Linked DNA regions of Homo sapiens: regions 2 and 3 are each linked to region 1. Evidence: promoter capture Hi-C in 16 types of primary human blood cells and fetal thymus (Javierre and others, 2016). All regions are on one chromosome and are shown on one strand. The core of a region is centred on a gene start or on the middle of the fragment in contact, and the rest is flanking DNA. Distances in the headings are between cores, read along the strand shown.

Region 1 (4,150 bases), core at 778-3,277:
CTCACCGCAACTTCTGCGTCCCGTGTTCAAGCGATTCTCCTGCCTCAGCCTCTCGAGTAGCTGGGATTACAGGCACGCACCACCACGCCTGGCTAATTTTTTGTATTTTTAGTAGAAACGTGGTTTCACTATGTTAGCCAAGCTGGTTTCGAACCTCTAACCTCAGGTGATCTGCCCTCCTTGGCCTCCCAAAGTGCTGGGATTACAGGCATGAGCCACCGCACCTGGCGCTTTTTGCCTATTTCTTTGAGACCTGGGGTTTTGGGTCACAAAACAGGCAAATGCCATGAGCCACCCTCCTCCTCTTTCTCCATCTTCTTGTGCTGCCTCAGGTCAGAGCACTTACCTGCTCCTGCCTTCTCACTGGGTTTCCTTGTCTCTGGCCTATTTGTCTCCAGAGGGGTCAAAACACTTCAAATCCTCCTATTTGTCTCTGTCCACTGTCAGGAGTTCCAGTTCCCAGAACCCCAATTTTGCCTACAAAATAGCGTGTCTTTTCACGGGGAGAGGATTTGTTGAGTTTTAGTGGGTACTCAAAAAGATCTAAAGCCAGTTGGGGGGGTTCACACATGTAATCCCAGCACTTTTGGGAGGCCGGCCTGTGAGGGTCGTTTGGGCGCAGGAGTTTGAGACCAGCCTGGACAACACAGCAAGACCCTGTCTCTATAAAAAATAAAATAAAAATAATTAGCTGGGCATAGTTGCGCACGTCTGTGGTTCCAGCTACTCGGGACGCTGAGGCGGGAGGATCGTTTGAGCCCAGGTGCTTGTTGAATTGAGCTATGAGTGCACTACTGCACCCCAGCCTGGGCAACAGAGTAAGGACCCAGTTTCTAAGAAAAGAAGATTCATTAGCTAGACGCGGTGGCTCACACCTGTAATTCCAACACTTTGGGAGGCCAAGACGGGCGGATCACTTGAGGCCAGGCGTTCGAGACCAGCCTGGCCAATATGGTGAAACCCCGTCTACTAAAAATACAAAATTAGCTGGGCGTGGTGGCTCACACTTGTAATCCCAGCTATTCGGGAGGCTGAGGCAGGAGAATTGGTTGAACCGGGGAGGCGGAGGTTGCAGTGAGCCAAGATCGCGCTACTGCACTCCAGCCTGGGTGACAGAGTGAGTACCCCGCCTCAAAAAAAAGAAAAGAAAAAAGATTCATGATCTGCTAAAGTTGAAGAAGTGGGGGAAAACATTGGAGTGTTAGCGGCGTCAAGATCGGGCGTGAGCAGAAAGGGCACAGCATTTGCAAAGGCGTGGAGGAGTGATTTTATTGCGTTCTATCCCTAGGAAGCAATGACTTGGCCTCTACCATTTGCAGAGCGCATTGGGACCCTGCTCCCAGAGCTGGTTTGCAGTCTGGGAACTGAGATGCGCTCTGGGACTTGTAGTTTTCCCCAGTGCCAGGAAACTCAAAAATCGAGACATCGGATCCCACCACGAGGTGTCGCCCTTGAGCGAGTACGGTGGGATCTATCCTATACTTCAGAAGGCTGTTGCAGACATCCAACAATCACAAGGAAGAACGGGAGTTTTTCTGATTGACAGATATGGTTCTCAATGATAGTCAAGATTCGGATGTTAAAGCCCGCCCTCTTTTGCCTGGTTGGCTGGAGCAACGAAGTGATATTTATATGAACCAATGGGAAATTCTTAGGGAACGAGGTAGTAGCTCAATCCCCAACACCATTGGTCCACATTGTCTACTGGCACGTCTGCCTGCCAATAAGATGGTGGAACTTCGCCAATGGGCAGAGCCAACGTGCCTTTTTCGGAAACACCCCCTTCCTCTCTTGACAACTTGCTTTCTGCCGCTATTGGCTGTTGCACAACAGTGACGGTTCTTTTGTCCAATAAGTCAGCAAGACGGTCCCCAGGGGGAAGGTTTACTCAACCATAGGCCCGTGCCTAGTTTTTATTGGCTAGTGTATCCGAGTGGCGGTGCAGCAGGCCAGTCGCGTGCGGCGCGAGTGCTTTGGGCGCAGCCCCCGGGGCCGGGGCGGGAGGTCGCTCGGGTCGGGTGTCGCCTGAGAACCGGATGAGGCGGCGACCGTGAGGCCGAGCCGGGAGCGGGCGTCTTGCCGAGGCCCGGGCGGGCGGGGAGCAACGGCTACAGACGCCGCGGGGCCAGGTCGTTGAGGGTCGGCGGCGGGCGAGGAGCGCAGGGCGCTCGGGCCGGGGGCCGCCGGCGCCATGGGCAACCGCGGGATGGAAGAGCTGATCCCGCTGGTCAACAAACTGCAGGACGCCTTCAGCTCCATCGGCCAGAGCTGCCACCTGGACCTGCCGCAGATCGCTGTAGTGGGCGGCCAGAGCGCCGGCAAGAGCTCGGTGCTGGAGAACTTCGTGGGCCGGTGAGCGGGCGCGGCAGGGATCGCGGGCGGGTGGCGGCCTAGGGCGCGGAGGGCGGACCGGGAATGGCGCGCCGTGCGCCGCCGGCGTAACTGCGGCGCTTGCGTGCCCGCGGCGGGGAACCGGACGGGGTCGGGGAGGCGGGCCCTGTGGGACGCCCTGGGCAGAGGACTCCCTGCAGGGGCTCCGGAGCAGGCCCGGGCCCCAGGGGCGGTGTCACGGGCCAGGGCGCCGTAGGACAGGAGGTGCGCTGGAACCCTGCGGTCCATCTGGTCCCAGCTTTCGTGGGTGAAGTCTGCCATCTGGTTGGCCGTGGGTCTGGGGTAGATCCCTCTTCTGCTCTTTCGGGCTGTCCATCAGAGGTGAAACCGGCCATCTAGATATCTATTGGGGCGACCGCTGCGGTCTGGCTGGCTTGTTCTTGTATCTGGAGCTGCCCCCGCCGTCTGGTTGGCTGTCTCTCTGTCCTGGGCAAGCCTCCCTGCCACCACCATTTGGTTGTCCATCTGTCCAGTCCCACCTGGCAGCCCCCTGCTGTCTGGCTAGCTGTCCAGGGTGACCTCTGCTGTCTGGCCGCCCATCCGTGCCCCTCACAGACTTTAACACTGAGCAGTCCCTCTGTTGGGTGACACCAGCTGGCCTCTACTGTCTGACTGGCTAGCTGACTCCTAGGGGACCCTGTTTGATTCTCTCTGGCTGACTCTTACAGCTTGATTCCTGGCTAGCGCTGGCTCCTCTCTTCCGTGTGAATTCTTCTGTCTGTCTGGCCATCTCCTAGTCTGCCCATGACTACCCCTGAGTGTCTGGCACAACGGCTCTGGAAAGGGGTGGTAGGAGGGTAGAGGGGAGAACAGAGCTGAAGGAGGAGGTTTGGACCCTACTTCCCCTCTCAGCTGGAAGGAGGACTCTGGGGGTACCTTACTTCAGGATTCCTTTCCGAGTGCTAGAACACAGGGGCCCGCCTCCCAGCTACAGCCTACAAATTGGGGGCCCTCCTTTGGAGCCTGGGAAGGGGCTTCTTGCGTGATCAGGCCTCAGTGGCTAGCGCTGGGATGTAGCCTTCTCTGGACAGCCTTGAGAAGCCGCGGTGTGCCCATCTGTCCAGTGGGCAAACTCCACTCTCTGGGGCTGTTTCCAGGATTCAGGAAGCAAATGAATGAGAACAGCCCGTGCAGCCACCTCTCCCTCCCACCAACCCCTCTTGCCTTTCTTGTCTCCCAGATGGGCGGCCACTTCTCCATTCCAGGAACTACTCATTTGTGGTGGTGTGGCTGCCAAATGATAACATCCTCCTCCTGTCATTATTGTCATTGTTATTGTTGTTATCATTGTCAAGGGATAATGTCCCTTCTTGATTCAACATCTTGAATCCCAAGTAAGGAGTGGGGTGGAGGCTGTGTTATCATCCCCACCTTAGCTGAGCTGGGAGGCTCAGAAGGGACTGTGATCACCCAAGGCCACTAGGCTGGCGTAAGGCCTTGTGTCTGCCATCCCAGAGCCTTGGGGCTTTGCTCCAAGCAGCACAAATCTCCTCTTTTGCTACCTTGTCTCTAGCTCATTGCCTTCTGTCTACCGTGGTGGAAAGGTGTGGACTTGCAGCCAGCTGGGCCTGGCCTGATCTCAGGCTGGACTGTGGTGTGGGCCCCTTTGAGTGACCATCTTCCTGCCTGCCCAGGCTTCTGGGACGGGGGTGGGGGGTGTTTGCAAAGCTCTGTCTCTTTCACTTGCCTTGTGACCTTGCACAGGTTGTCTTGGCCTCTCTAAGTCTTGGTTGACTCTCCTAAACAAGTTTATTTTATT
Region 2 (4,150 bases), core at 690-3,189, 110 kb after region 1:
CCTGAGGTCAGGAGTTAAAGACCAGCCTGGCCAATATGGTGAAACCCCATCTCTGCTAAAAATACAAAAATTAGCCGGGGGTTGGGGGGCACGCCTGTAGTCCCAGCTACTTGGGAGGTTGAGGCACAAGAATTGCTTGGACCCAGGAGACGCAGGTTGCAGTGAGCCAAGATTGCACTGCAGCCTGGGTGACAGAGTGAGACTCTGTCACAAAAAAATAAAGATATAACAGGATTGGCTGGGCGCGGTGGCTCACGCCTGTAATCCCAGCACTTTGGGAGGCTGAGGCAGGCGGATCATAAGGTCAGGAGATCGAGACCATCCTGGCTAACAGGGTGAAACCCTGTCTCTACTAAAAATACAAAAAATAAGCTGGGCGTGGTGGCAGGCGCCTGTAGTCCCAGCTACTTGGGAGACTGAGGCAGGAGAATGGCATAAACCCGGGAGGCGGAGGTTGCAGTGAGCTGAGATTGCACCACTGCACTCCAACCTGGGCGACAGTGAGACTGTCTCAAAAAAAAAAAAGCAAAAACAAAAAAGATATAACAGGATTATTCTGCCAAGGTTAAGGAAATAAATAAATAAGCTAAAACAGGAGAAAAGACATCAATGGAAGAGGCAAGATACTAGAAATAAGTTGAATAAGAATCTCATAACCAGCCTGGGCCACATGGTGGAACCCTATCTCTAAAAAAATTACAAAACTTAGCCAAGCATGGTGTCAACGTGCCTGTCGTCCTAGCTACTTGGGAGGCTGAGGCAGGATAATTACTTGAACCCGGGAGGCGGAGGTTGCAGTGAGCTGAAATTGAGCCACTGTACTCCAGCCTGGGTGACAGAGCAAGACTCTTTTTCAAAAAAGTCTGGGGGTGGCCCCGCCCTGTGAGAGATGTTTTTCCAGCAGTCACTGTGGGTTCTGGGTTGGGGTGATACACAAGCCTGACCCTCCCCAACCCCTGCCCGCAGACGAAGGCCTTCATCCACCACGAGCTGCTGGCCTACCTATACTCCTCGGCAGACCAGAGCAGCCTCATGGAGGAGTCGGCTGACCAGGCACAGCGGCGGGACGACATGCTGCGCATGTACCATGCCCTCAAGGAGGCGCTCAACATCATCGGTGACATCAGCACCAGCACTGTGTCCACGCCTGTACCCCCGCCTGTCGATGACACCTGGCTCCAGAGCGCCAGCAGCCACAGGTCCGGAAGCCTGGTTCCCCTACCCTCAAGCATTCGGCCTGCAGGTTCCTGCCCTCCCTGTGTGTCCTGCAGGGTCCTGGCAGGAAACAGGACACAGCCCAAGGGTGGCACCCAGGGCTGGGCACTGTGGGAGCTGCTGCCCTGCTGAGGCCGGAGGAGGGAGAGAAGGGGTATGGGGGCGAGCCAGCCCTACAGCTCTAGGGCAGGACCCTGTGAATAAATACCCCGCCTGCCCTCTGCTGGTGCCTTCCATTGGCACAGCCCAAATGGAAGCTGGGGTAAGAGGCTGGAGGGGCAGCAGCCACAGGAGAGAGATGAGCCTCCTGGAGCACAGAGAAGGGCAGATGGGAGGCTCTGGAGGGGCAAACGCAAGGCGTGGCCAGAGCTGCTGCCGCCCCTGAGTTGTCCATTGAGGCCGTCGGGCAGGGAACCTCAGAGGGGGCTGCCTTGCAGAGCCCTGGGGGAGCCATGGAGTTCCTTAAGGGGAGGATATCGCACCCAGGCCTGCAGGTGGCAGGGACTGAGGCCCAGGAGGGAATCTGGATGTCTGGACAGGGCTTGCAGGTTCCACGGCCCCTAGAGATATTAGGGCTTGATCTGGAGGACTCTGGAAGTGTCTTTGGCTGTGAGGGTGGATCCCAGGCCCAAGGCCTGAGGGGGCCCTGTGAGTGGGAAGTGCCTGAGGGGGCCGAGGGCAAGGGAAGGTGGGACTGGCGCTCAGGTTGGGGTGGGAGGATCCCACTGCGCCTGCGCTGTCCCCATAGCCAGCCCCCACCTCAGGTTCTGGCAGCCACAGTGGCATGGCGGGGGCTCCTACTCCATCTGTATCTGTAGCTCACACCCTCTCCTTCCTCACAGCCCCACTCCACAGCGCCGACCGGTGTCCAGCATACACCCCCCTGGCCGGCCCCCAGCAGTGAGGGGCCCCACTCCAGGGCCCCCCCTGATTCCTGTTCCCGTGGGGGCAGCAGCCTCCTTCTCGGCGCCCCCAATCCCATCCCGGCCTGGACCCCAGAGCGTGTTTGCCAACAGTGACCTCTTCCCAGCCCCGCCTCAGATCCCATCTCGGCCAGTTCGGATCCCCCCAGGGATTCCCCCAGGAGTGCCCAGGTAAGGCCAACCCCCTGCCCTCCACCCCAACTGCCTGCACCCTGGGGTCTCTCCTCCTGTCTCACTTCCTCCCAGTGAGCTCTCACTACGTGCCCAGCTGCTGGAGTGGAGGAATCGTCCTCATCCCTATTTGGCTTGCGAGGAAACAGGCCCAGAGAGGCCAAGAGGCTTGTTCAGTGTCACAGAGTAGCGGAGCCCTGGTGACTCCGGGGCTCCCAGCTTGCCCTCTGCCTACTGGGGTGTGCCACCAGGCAGCTGGGGAACCCTCACACTGGGCACCTCCTCCCACTGTTTACCTTCTTCTCCTTCCTGCTCCTGCCTGCCTCAACCTACCGTGGGCCAGGCTTTATTCTCCCCACTTCTCCGGTGGGGAAGCTGAGGCCCAGGGAGGGCAGGGGGCTCACTGAGGGTCAAACAGCAGGCGAGTTGATGCCTAGGTTTGGCACTCCTGCCCGACACCCTGGTGGCTTGCGGAGGTCAGCCTGGGAACACCCTGGGGTGGTGTGTGGGTGGGGGCTGGGTCCTCAACCCAGGCCTGCCTCTTGCTCCCGGCCTCACTGCCGTCTCCCCCTCCCCACCTGTCTTTATTCTCTTTGCAGCAGAAGACCCCCTGCTGCGCCCAGCCGGCCCACCATTATCCGCCCAGCCGAGCCATCCCTGCTCGACTAGGCCTCGAGGGGGGCGTGCTCTCGGGGGGGCCTCACGCACCCGCGGCGCAGGAGCTTCAGTGGTCTGGGGCCCTCCGCCGCCCCTATGCTGGGACCAGGCTCCCAGTGGGCAGCCCTGGCCTCTTCCTTAACGCTGGCCCCGGTCCAGGGCCGGCCCCTGTGCCTGGCTGGACACCGCACTGCGCAAAGGGGCCCTGGAGCTCCAGGCAGGGGGCGCTGGGGTGTTGCACTTTGGGGGATGGAGTCTCAGGGTGGCAGAGGGGGGACCAGAACCCTTGACACCATCCTGAATGAGGGGTCCAGCCTGGGGGGGACTCTACCAAGGTCTTCTTGGGCTGGGAAAGCCCATGTAGGGCAGGCCTTCTATAAGTGCGGGCACCAAGGGCGCCTACATCCCCAGGCCTTGCTGGGGTGCAGGGGTATATCAACTTCCCATTAGCAGGAGCTCCCCAGCGGCAAGCCTGGCCCAGTGGGCTCGGTAGTGCCCAGCTGGCAGGCCTGAGGTGTACATAGTCCTTCCCGGCCATATTAACCACACAGCCTGAGCCTGGCCCAGCCTCGGCTGCCAGAGGTGCCTTTGCTAGGCCCGGAGCCGTTGGCCCGGGCCGGCCTTGCCCTATTCCTCTCCTCCTCCTCCTCCTGGGTCCCCCAGGGTGGCTGGGCTTGGGCTATGTGGGTGGTGGTGGCGGGGGGTCTTGGGGGCCTCTCAGCTCCCGCCCATGCCTCCCTGATGGGTGGGCCCAGGGCGGCCTCTCTCTGAGGAGACCTCACCCACTCCTCGCTCAGTTTGACCACTGTAAGTGCCTGCACTCTGTATTCTATTAATAAACTAAAATAAAGGGAAGACGCTGCTGGTGGCTGCTGTGTGGGCCTCTTGTGTTAGTGTTCAGGCTGGGGACATGGGTGCCACCTCCATCAGGCCTCCCATAAGGATGCCCAAGTCCCTGCACTCATAAGTGCCTCCCATCTCCCTGAGGGCTCTGCTTTCGGGGGTGTCACCTTTCAGAGGAAGCCACTCGATACAGGGGAGAGCTTTTACTTTCCTTAGCATGTGAGGAGTGGGAGCAGATATTCTCTGACCCCCTGCACACCCCCACGTGCACAGGCCTGGCTGCTGCCTGGTGAAGCGGGGACCCCAGCGCTCCACCCCCTTCCTACCCTCAGGCCCTGCTT
Region 3 (4,150 bases), core at 715-3,214, 95 kb after region 1:
ACAAGGCAGTGCCCCCACCCCGCTCCCCCCGGGTGAATGGAGGCATTCCCAGACTGCCAGACCTTTGGTGCTAACACCAGGACGTCCTGGACAGACCAGGAAGAGCTCGTCACTGCGTTCCCAGAGGGGATGCTGTGACCTCACAGGGGCTGCTGGCCTCAGCCCCCTCACCCACCACCAGGCAGCCCGTGAATGGCCAGATGCCAGGGGTCACTGCCTGCTCCAAACAACTGTGAGAGTCCTGTCTGCTCATCCCAGGGAGGGATAAGTCTGTACCCTTGGCCTTAACAAGGGGCGCCCGGTGGCATCTCATGCTGTCCCCAGCCTGGGCAGTGACTTCTGCATGGTCCAGGGGTCCCTGGGTACTCTTTAGCCACCTCCGTCTTCATGGCCACCTGGGGCTTAGCACTCACATCCAGCCACCAAGGAGCCGCTGGAGCTGTGGGCTGGTGGCCCTGGTTCAGAATGTCAGGCCCGGGGTGGGTCGGGGTAGTCCGGATGAAGCCCCTCCAGAGGACCGCCCCCGACTAGGACAGCATCTGGGCCCCAGAGGGATTCCTGGAGGCCCCATCTCTGGCGCTCCTGCCGTGCCGTGCCCTGCCATGCCCTGCACTGGGGGATGCAGGCCAGCCCTTCGCAGCTGTCCATGGCCATGCTCAGCCCACCCTTTGTAGCTTGGCCAAGTCTGTCAGTGCCTGGGTCCCAGGCCGCCCTGTGCGTGCCTCCGTGTGCTTCCTGCAGCTCCCAGGGCCCTCGTCCTGAGTGGGGTGGGGGGCTCTGCCCACACATGCCTCCAGCGGCCAGGGAGCATGGGAGCACAGCCCCCAGGCTGCCTGCCGTTAGTTGTCAGGTGAGTCCCTGCGCAGGCCTGGGTTCTGACCCCCACGCAGATGACAGCTACAGCCACACAATCCCCATCCATGGGGTCTCCCAGCCTGAAACCCTGATGTGTCAGTCAAAAGGATGACCACCAGGCTTGCAGCCAGCTTGGGACATGAGCCGCGCTCCTTCAATGTCCTTGGGGAGGGCCCCTGGGCTCACACCTTTGACCCTAGCCCTCTGTGTGGATGCTACCCTTGGAACCTTATCTCACGCAAACAAGTGCAGTTCCTCAGATGTCACATTTCATGTGCCACAGCCCCACACACAAGCCCCAGGGACTCCTCCCATGGGCCCCTTTCCATCAGGCCTCTGTGAGTCTATACCCCATCAGCCCCTGGCCCAGTGAGTCTGTCTGTCCGCCCACCTGCCCAGGTGGCGCCTCATGTTGGTTTCCTGCTGGAAATGCTTGGGACAGGGTGGAACTGGGTTTCCTGGGCTTTGGGGCTGGAGGTGTCTCTATTGCGGTCCCTGGCTTCCCACTGAGCTGTGGGCAAGGCTGCTGCGCTGGGGGATGGCTGGGGCACGGAGCGAGGTTCCCTGCTAAGCTGCGCGCTTTCCCCCAGGTGATCCGCAGGGGCTGGCTGACCATCAACAACATCAGCCTGATGAAAGGCGGCTCCAAGGAGTACTGGTTTGTGCTGACTGCCGAGTCACTGTCCTGGTACAAGGATGAGGAGGTGAGTGGCAGGCGGGAGCAGGGCTGCTGGGGTAGGTGGGGCAGCCAGGGAAGAGCGGGTGGGCGCTCCCTCTGGGCAGAACTCAGTCACTGCGCCACTCTGCCCTGAGTCACCATTAGGACTGTAACTCGCCGGGCACGGTGGCTCCCGCCTGTAATCCCAGCACTTTGGGAGGGCGAGGCAGGTAGATCACGAGGTCGGGAGTTTGAGACCAGCCTGGCCAACATGATGAAACCCCGTCTCTACTAAAATTGCAAAAATTAGCCAGGAGTGGTGGCACGCGCCTGTAATCCCAGCTACTCAGGAGGCTGAGGCAGGAGAATCGTTTGAACCCGGGAGGCGGAGGTTGCAGTGAGCCGAGATTGCGCCACTGCACTCCAGCCTGGGCGAGAGAGCGAGACTCCATCTCAAAATAAACAAACAAACAAACAAAAAACAACCGTAACCCAGGGCTGGAGAGCAGCCACCATGTGCCAAAAGGCTTACATTGTACCTGGCCCCCATGGGACCAGCTCCTAGAGTGCAAAAGGGAGATGGAGGGTGATGGAGTCACTAGCAGGCTAGAAACAGGCCCTGACCTCCAGTGCCACTGTGACTGCCCCGTGCTCAAGAGAAGGGGCCATGCCCAAGGGTCAGGGGCTCAGGCATGCAGCCAGCCTCCAGGGGCACCGGGGTTCCATCACTTACACCTCAGTCAGGCCCCTTGCCTCTCTGGGCCTCAGTTTTTCTATCTGCGAAGTGGTCTAGGATGGTCCCTGCCCACTGTGCGGTGCTTGGCCACAGTGTGCAGAACGATCCCCACATGCTCGTCATTATGGGAAGGAAGTGGAGAGGCCCCTGGGTGATGACTGCAGGGAGCAGTGTTGAGTGCTGAGTCATGGGAGGGACTCGTTCACTGCGAGTGAGGGGGCAGGCCTTGAGCAAGGATACTGCCAACCGGCCTCTGCTCTCCATGCTGACCCAGCATCCCTCCTGATGGTCCTATGTAGAAAAAGATACATAATGTTTGACATATTTATGGGGTCCCTGTGATGTTTTATTAGATGTACAGAGTATGTAATGATCACGGCAGAGTGTTTGTGGTGTCTGTCACTTTGGTATTCCTCATTTTCCTGTGTTCAGAACAGTTCAGGTCCTCTCTTCTGACTACTTTGAAATACACAAGGCTGGGCACGGTGCCTCAGGCCTATAATCCCAGCACTTTGGGAGGCTGAGGTGGGAGGATGGCCTGAGTTCAGGGGTTCAAGACCAGTTTGAGCAACATAGCATTACCCTGTGTCTATTAAAACCCAAAAAAAATTAGCTGGGCATGGTGGTGCATACCTGTAGTCCCAGCTACTCAGGAGGCTGAGGTGGGAGGGTCACTTGAGCCCAGGAGATGGAGGCTGTGGTGAGCTATGATCACACCACTGCACTCCAGCCTGGGCCACAGAGCAAGACACTGTCTCAAAAAAAAAAAAAAAGAAGAAGAAGAAGAAATAGACAATACGTTGTTGCATTGTTGGCTGGGCACAGTGGCTCATGCCTGTAATCTTAGCACTCTGGGAGGCTGAGGTGGGTGGATCACCTGGGGTCAGGTATTCAAGACCAGCCTGGCCAAACGGTGAAGCCCCTTCTCTACTAAAAATGCAAAAATTAGCCAGGTGTGGTGGCGCACGCTTGTAATCCTAGTTACTTGGGGGGCTGAGGCAGGAGAATCACCGGAACCTGGGAGGTGGAGGTGGAGTTTGCAGGGAGCCGAGATGGTGCCACTGAACTCCAGCCTGGGCGACAGAGTGAGAGACTCCCTCTCAAAAATAAAAACAGGCTGGGCGCAGTGGCTCACGCCATTAATCCCAGCACTTTGGGAGGCCAAGGCAGACAGATCACTTGAGGTCGGGAGTTCGAGACCAGCCTGACCAACATGGAGAAACCCCGTCTCTACTAAAAATACAAAATTAATCTGGCGTGGTGGCGCATACCTGTAATCCCAGCTACTCAGGAGGCTGAGGTGGGAGAATCGCTTGAACCTGGGAAGCAGAGGTTGCGGTGAGCCAAAATTGCGCCATTGCACTCCAGCCTGGGCAACAAGAGTGAAAGTGTGTCTCAAAGAAAAAAAAACACCAGACAATTGTTGTTAACTATAGTCTTAACTGCAGTCACCCTACTCTTCTGTTGAACAATAGAAGTTAATGCCTTTTCTCTAACTGTATGTTTGTACCCATTAACCCCACCTCTCTTTACCCCCTACTTGTCCCCACCTTTCCCAGCCTCTAGTATTTATCCTTCTACTCTCCACCTCTGTGAGATCCGCTCTTCTACCTTTTATTTTTTTAGCTCCCACGTATGAGTGACAACATGCAAGATCTGTCTTTTTGTGCCTGGCTTATTTCACTTAACATAATGACCTCCAGTTCCATTCATGTTGCTGCAAATGACAGGATCTCATTCTTTTCTATGGCCCTGATCAACCCGTTTCTTGCTTAATTCTCTTGACGTAACCATGGCTTAGTGGCCTGGAAGGGAAGCCACTTCTGTGTGATAGCTTGTTGCTACTCTGATGCGGTCCAGGTTGGCTTTCAAGAGTCCCTGGCAAAGAGAGCTGTGTTTTT

Evidence for each region. Contacts are between HindIII fragments. The CHiCAGO score rates a contact against its expected background, and 5 or more counts as called.
Region 2: a fragment that was not itself captured here is called in contact with the fragment with the promoter of DNM2 in region 1 in 1 of 17 cell types (neutrophils); the score reaches 5.5 in neutrophils.
Region 3: a fragment that was not itself captured here is called in contact with the fragment with the promoter of DNM2 in region 1 in 1 of 17 cell types (neutrophils); the score reaches 6.7 in neutrophils.

What each region holds. Positions count from the first base shown.
Region 1 is chr19:10,716,052-10,720,201 of GRCh38, forward strand. It overlaps DNM2 (dynamin 2), which reads left to right and starts at 2,028. Exons shown (of 21, transcript NM_001005361.3): 1 at 2,028-2,352. The coding sequence starts at 2,192. MIR638 (microRNA 638) reads left to right here and starts at 2,353; the gene lies at 2,353-2,452. RefSeq lists enhancers at 1,107-1,296, 1,487-1,606, 3,047-3,186 and a silencer at 1,887-2,556. The HindIII fragment of the contact is 21,985 bases long and covers 1-4,150 here.
Region 2 is chr19:10,828,070-10,832,219 of GRCh38, forward strand. It overlaps DNM2 (dynamin 2), which reads left to right. Exons shown (of 21, transcript NM_001005361.3): 19 at 967-1,199; 20 at 2,058-2,309; 21 at 2,909-3,834. The coding sequence ends at 2,978. MIR6793 (microRNA 6793) reads left to right here and starts at 904; the gene lies at 904-966. TMED1 (transmembrane p24 trafficking protein 1) reads right to left here. Exons shown (of 4, transcript NM_006858.4): 4 at 3,998-4,150. The HindIII fragment of the contact is 6,850 bases long and covers 1-4,150 here.
Region 3 is chr19:10,810,819-10,814,968 of GRCh38, forward strand. It overlaps DNM2 (dynamin 2), which reads left to right. Exons shown (of 21, transcript NM_001005361.3): 15 at 1,446-1,559. Among named protein-coding and RNA genes, the nearest start is that of MIR199A1, 4.6 kb to the right of the region's middle. RefSeq lists an enhancer at 865-1,797. The HindIII fragment of the contact is 7,280 bases long and covers 1-4,150 here.